Regions from separate parts of the Homo sapiens genome. Here region 2 is linked to region 1. The links are contacts of gene promoters, found by promoter capture Hi-C in blood cells and fetal thymus (Javierre and others, 2016). All regions are on one chromosome and are shown on one strand. Each heading gives the region's core, a stretch centred on a gene start or on the middle of the fragment in contact. The rest is flanking DNA. Distances are from core to core; before and after follow the strand shown. Region 1 holds the start of GBP6 (guanylate binding protein family member 6). Region 2 has its middle 63 kb from the start of GBP6.

The links. The method cuts DNA at HindIII sites, captures the fragments that hold promoters and counts their contacts. A CHiCAGO score of 5 or more calls a contact.
Region 2: a contact is called between a fragment that was not itself captured here and the fragment with the promoter of GBP6 in region 1, in 1 of 17 cell types (activated CD4 T cells). The highest score is 5.4, in activated CD4 T cells.

The regions. Positions count from the first base shown.
Region 1 is chr1:89,362,759-89,365,422 of GRCh38, reverse strand. GBP6 (guanylate binding protein family member 6) reads right to left here and starts at 1,364. Exons shown (of 11, transcript NM_198460.3): 1 at 1,296-1,364. The HindIII fragment of the contact is 2,752 bases long and covers 906-2,664 here.
Region 2 is chr1:89,426,117-89,428,780 of GRCh38, reverse strand. No RefSeq gene overlaps it. Among named protein-coding and RNA genes, the nearest start is that of GBP6, 63 kb to the right of the region's middle. The HindIII fragment of the contact is 865 bases long and covers 860-1,724 here.

The sequences.
Region 1 (2,664 bases), core at 115-2,614:
AAATGCATTGTAATGTGATGTGTAACGTGTTCATCACATTACAGTGACTGCAACTGTACAGTCCCTTCTTTAAAGTGAACAATAAAGGCAGCTCTAGGAAGATGTGGCTGCTCCTGCAAACAACTTTATATAAACCAGGTCTCTGGTTTCTTAGCTGTGTGGGAACCACAGACCTTTTAACTTCTACTAAATGAAATACAGCTGTTCAATCCTATTCAGGACTGGTTTTCACACTCTGATGTACATAAGAATCACCTGATCACTCTGATGATAGTTTCTTTTGCTGTGCAGAAGCTCTTTAATTAGATCCCATTCTCAGCAAACTAACACAGGAACAGAAAACCAAAAACTGCGTGTTCTAACTGGTAAGTGGGAGTTGAACAATGAGAACATGTGGACACGGGCGGCGGGGGGTTGGCGCTGGGGGTGGGGGTGGGAAACTCACACACTGGGGCCTGTCAGTGGGTGGAGGGCAAGGGGAGGGAGAGCATTAGGACAAATACCTAATGCATGCGGGGCTTAAAACCTAGATGACGGATTGATAGGTGCAGCAAACCACCATGGGACATGGTGGTTTTTAAAAAAATCTTTTTTATTTTAAACATAGTGTCTATTCTTCATCTTTTTTTTTTTTAAAGAATCAACTGAGAGGATTGTTCAAACCCAGATTCCCAGGCCTAAGTATCCATCTGTTTAGCAAGAGCTACAAGAGACTCTGATGTTCCTATGGGAAACTAACACCCCCCTCCTCCCCCACCCCCTCCCCACACACACATACACACACACACACACACACGCACACACAGAGTTTGGACTATATAATTATTTTTAAGTAATAAAGACCAGTGATGTGGGGCCTAAGTTTATTTCTACATAGAGATTTATAGAGCTCTTATTCTGAAGCTTTCCTAAGTGTGACCACTAGAAAGATAGACAAGAAACTCTCCCTTCCGGTATAATTGCCTGGAAGCTCCTTGTTCTCTGCATTCTGGGGCTTGCCGCAGGACCTGAGAGAGATAGCCAGGCAGGCGCCCACCAGGGCTCATTCCAGGCCACTCACTGCTGTCCTGAGTTGATGATCAGGGAACAGCACATCCAGGGGGACGCGGCGTGCCCGGCTGTCACTGGTTCAAGTGGAGAAGCTGAGCTTCCCCAGAACTAAAGCCAGCCACAGACTCCTGCAGGCCAGGCAGCAGGCACCCTGCCCTTCCTGCCCATTCCTCAGTTACCACTCTGAATCAGAAACCAAGTCTTGAGTTAGGAACTAAGTTGCATTTAAAAGAAAGTGAACATACCTGCTCTATAGCACCGCAGGTCCAAGAACAGTTTTCAGTTGCCTCACTCACCTCTTGTTTTCTTTCCTCCTTTTACTTTTCTGTTCTTTCCTTTATAAAAGGAAAAAAAAGCTGAGTAAGCTAGTTGTTTCCACAAATGGGATGGTGCAGTAAAAATAAACTTGGAAGTAAAATTAATCCATGCTTTTAATAAAGTGTTAGCAGAGCCATGCCTGAATCATCCGATGTGAGTTTGAGGATGGGTGTTGGGTGCAGGGGTGGGAGGAGGTCAGAAAAAGCCACAGATACTGCACAGTCACACCTTAGCAAGCACAATCCTGCCAGCTTTCTTTTGTCTTTCCCATCTTAGAAGGCTTCACAGGCTTTCTTCTTGATACCGTTCCCAGGTGGCTTTAGTTTCCTAGGCACACAAGAAAAACAGGAAATCTACAGTAGTCACATAAGCAAAGCCTTAGAAACCAAGAATATTTTAAGCATTTTTCTCTTAGTGGGAATTCTTGAGTTCTGGGGTCTTTTGTTAGTGAAGAACTTTTGATATTTTAAATGTGTTCACACATGCACACACACACACAGAAGAGAGAGAGAGAAAGAGAGAGAGCTAAAGATATTACTGGTTTAAAAAAAGAATGAACCATGTCTTTTACAGCAACATGGATGGAACTGGAGTTCATTATCTTAGGTGAAACAACTCAGAAACCGAAAGTCAAATACCACATTCTTACTCATAAGTGGAAGCTAAAAAATCTGCATACATGGACATAGAAGGTGGAATGTGCAGTGCATAACAGTGTACAAGCTCCTATGAGAATCTAATGCTGCTGCTGATCTGACAGGAGGCAGGTCTCAGGCCTTAGTGCTCTCTCCCTACTCACCTCCTGTGTGGCCCAGTTTCTAACAGACCATGCTCTGGGGGTTTGGGACCCTTGATGTGGACTATTTATCCAACAACCCACAGTTTCCATTGGTTGAGTCTTATCCCCAGGGACTTTAACTATTTTGAATTCACAAGCTGCCCTTGGGCAAAATAGACACCCTTTCACAGCTTGGAGAAACATCTGAGTGAGAAAAGGAGAAAGACTCTCTACAGAGGACATAGCAGCATGCTGGGACTGTCTACCATGGCTGCACTGCTAAATGGATTTGAGAACAGAAGCAAGTGGCAGAATGAGCAGACATGAGTTTTGGCAATAACTTAGGCTGAGGATTTGGGGAGTGTGGTAGACTAATCTGAATACTCTATTCAGACAAAGACTTGTGTTAAAAATGTAAAATTCTGGGCCAGGTGCGGTGGCTCACTCCTGTAATCCCAGCACTTTGGGAGGCCGAGGCGGGCGGATCACGAGGTCAGGAGATCAAGACCATCCTGGCT
Region 2 (2,664 bases), core at 43-2,542, 63 kb before region 1:
GTATCTTGCTCTGGGGCGAACAGCCCCATCATCTCCACGTCCCTGGAACCCTGCGGACATCTCTTCATTTCCACCCAGAGGGCTGCAACTTTGTCCCGTGGGCTGAATCCAGTGGTGCAGTAAGGAACAGCAGTGCACCACACCAGGGAGGCTGCCCCCAGGACAAAGGGAGCCTAAATGCACACTCCTCAGTTTCTGAAAGCCACTTGCCTGGGGCCACTGCCACCAACAGCAACCCTCTCAACCTTCCACCGGAAGCAGGGCCACCAAGCATCTGCATGTGCCTCCAATGGTCCTGGAGCTGGTCTACCCAGACACTGTTCTGTGTCCTGAGGACAGGCTCTCACACCACCCACCATGCAAACATGCTGCCCAGGGCCTGGGGATCATGCTGCCTCAACTGTAGCTGTGGGCATGTGCATGCAACATCAGGAAGTCTGACAGCAGGCCCAGGTCACCTGCCACTGGGACCCAAGCATGCCATCCAGGGGCCTGGTGATTTCCTGGCCCCACTCACCATAGCCTGCACACTTGCACACCATTGGAGGGTCTAAGGGCAGGAAAGCAACATGCCTCCCTGGAGAGAGCTTGATTCTATTCTGGCATATGCTAGAGAAAAGTACTAAACCAAGTCAGATGCTTTGGAATGTGGTCTAAATATTAATGCTACCAAACTGGGGAGGAAGTAACTCAGTTTTGCTGATTTTTCATTTTCTTATGCTTTATTGGTTAACAAAGAAACCATTATTTGCTTTTGAAGGCAGAGTTATTATTTTCTACCATGAAGTTACTTCAACTCATAAAAATGTATTTTATTTACACCTTTGTAGCAATGGAGCTTGGAAGAAAATATAAAGCTTACCTACATGAACATTTCATCTAGTATTCTGTGGTCTCACCTGGTCTTCTATGAAGTTTCAGTTCAAGTGAGGAAACAGCACCATGCTCTATTATGAAAGGAGGCATTTGCCATGTGATTGGATCAGAGGTAGCTCAAGGTAATAAAAGGCCTCAAAGCAATTAGAAAAGACAGAATTATTAATGTGGATTTAATGGCATTAACTGCTTCCCTCCTTTTTTCTCACTGTGTTATTTTGAATAACCACATAGTTTTTTCAAGATTCTAATATATATAATCTAATCCATATGATTTTTGTACGTGTGAGTTACACAAGGCCGGTATATAAAACTTTGACCAATGTGTCTGTAAATCAGAGTTCTGCAAACTATGGCTTATGGGTGCCACCCTGTTATTGAAAATAAAAATTGATTGGAACATAGCCACACCTATTGGTTTATGTATTTTCTATGGCTGCATTTGCACTACATGCAGAGCTGAGTACTTGAGACAGACTGTATGACCTGCGAAGTCATAAATAGTTACTATCTGGTATTTTCAGAAAAGATTGCCAACCATTGCTATAAAGACTAAAACCTTCTTTTCTGACAAAAATAACTGCAAAAAGAAAACTTAATCAGAAATAAGAAGCCTAGTGAAATACATTGTATTTACAGTTCAGAAATAATTTTTAATTGCTATAAGAAACATCAACCACTTTCCTAGGACTTTTGACACATGAGATAAAGTCTATGTATACTAAGTAAACACAAGAACATTATTAAATGGGTCAAAAATGTCAAAAAACATCCGATATTCTCTTCTGGGGAAACTCAGCAAGATTTCAAGTATGAGTGTTAAGAATTAGAAAAGACTAGCATAAGCTTTAGCATTCTAAATAATAAGTAATTGAATTAATTCAATTCTGTTACACAGCATCTTTTAAAGTCAATCTTTGCAAATTATACATTGCCATAAATACAGTGTGTAATTGGCATTATGTGACTTTGTTTAATCCAGTGTCAACTGTCTAATGGTCTAAAGTGTCCCATTAAAGTTATAATCTGGATGAACTGAACAAGAAGAAAAGTTTTCTTCTTTAGCCCATTTGTTTATCACTCAATTCCTGCTCCTGCTCATGGTTTCTTCCACCTACCTCTGGAGAACATAAAGGGATTCTAGATCTCTGTATAAGGTGGTTTGCTTTAGCTTGAAATCATCAGTGAGGACAATACATGGGCAATGTCCACAAATCACATTATTGCTCATAGACTGTGTAGCCCTGATCTAATGGATAACTGTACATTGTCTTCACTAAGAAGCCAGGGTGGTTGTCCTTGATATTGGGACATTGTAGACTTGGCCAGACCAATGCCCAAATATTTCCCAAGACTTTTACCTAAGACTCTGCTCAGTACCCATTTGTCTACTGCTGGTCATCTGGAAGAATAAACTCCTGGGTGGTACCAGCTCATGAACCTTCCTGAGTTGGTACAGAGGTAAATGCATCTTTTTTGCACAATTTACAGTCTTTTTTTTTTTGGAAAAAACATGATTTTGATCATTGTACTGCATGCCTTTATAAATTTTGGTGTTATGATGCAAGATCTAATTATTATCAAATGTAGTGTCGCTTGTTCCAAATTCTAAAATTGTTTCAATTATGCCTTGGGTAGGGGTGACAGGAAGGCTCTGGTCTTTAGTTTATGGTACATGTCCTTGGTTGTATCATTGTCCTCTGGAGATTCTGTATCTCATTTTGGATTCTTCTGCTTACGTTTTCAAATCTCTCTTTTAGTAGTCGCTCTTGTTCCTAAAGAGGGACA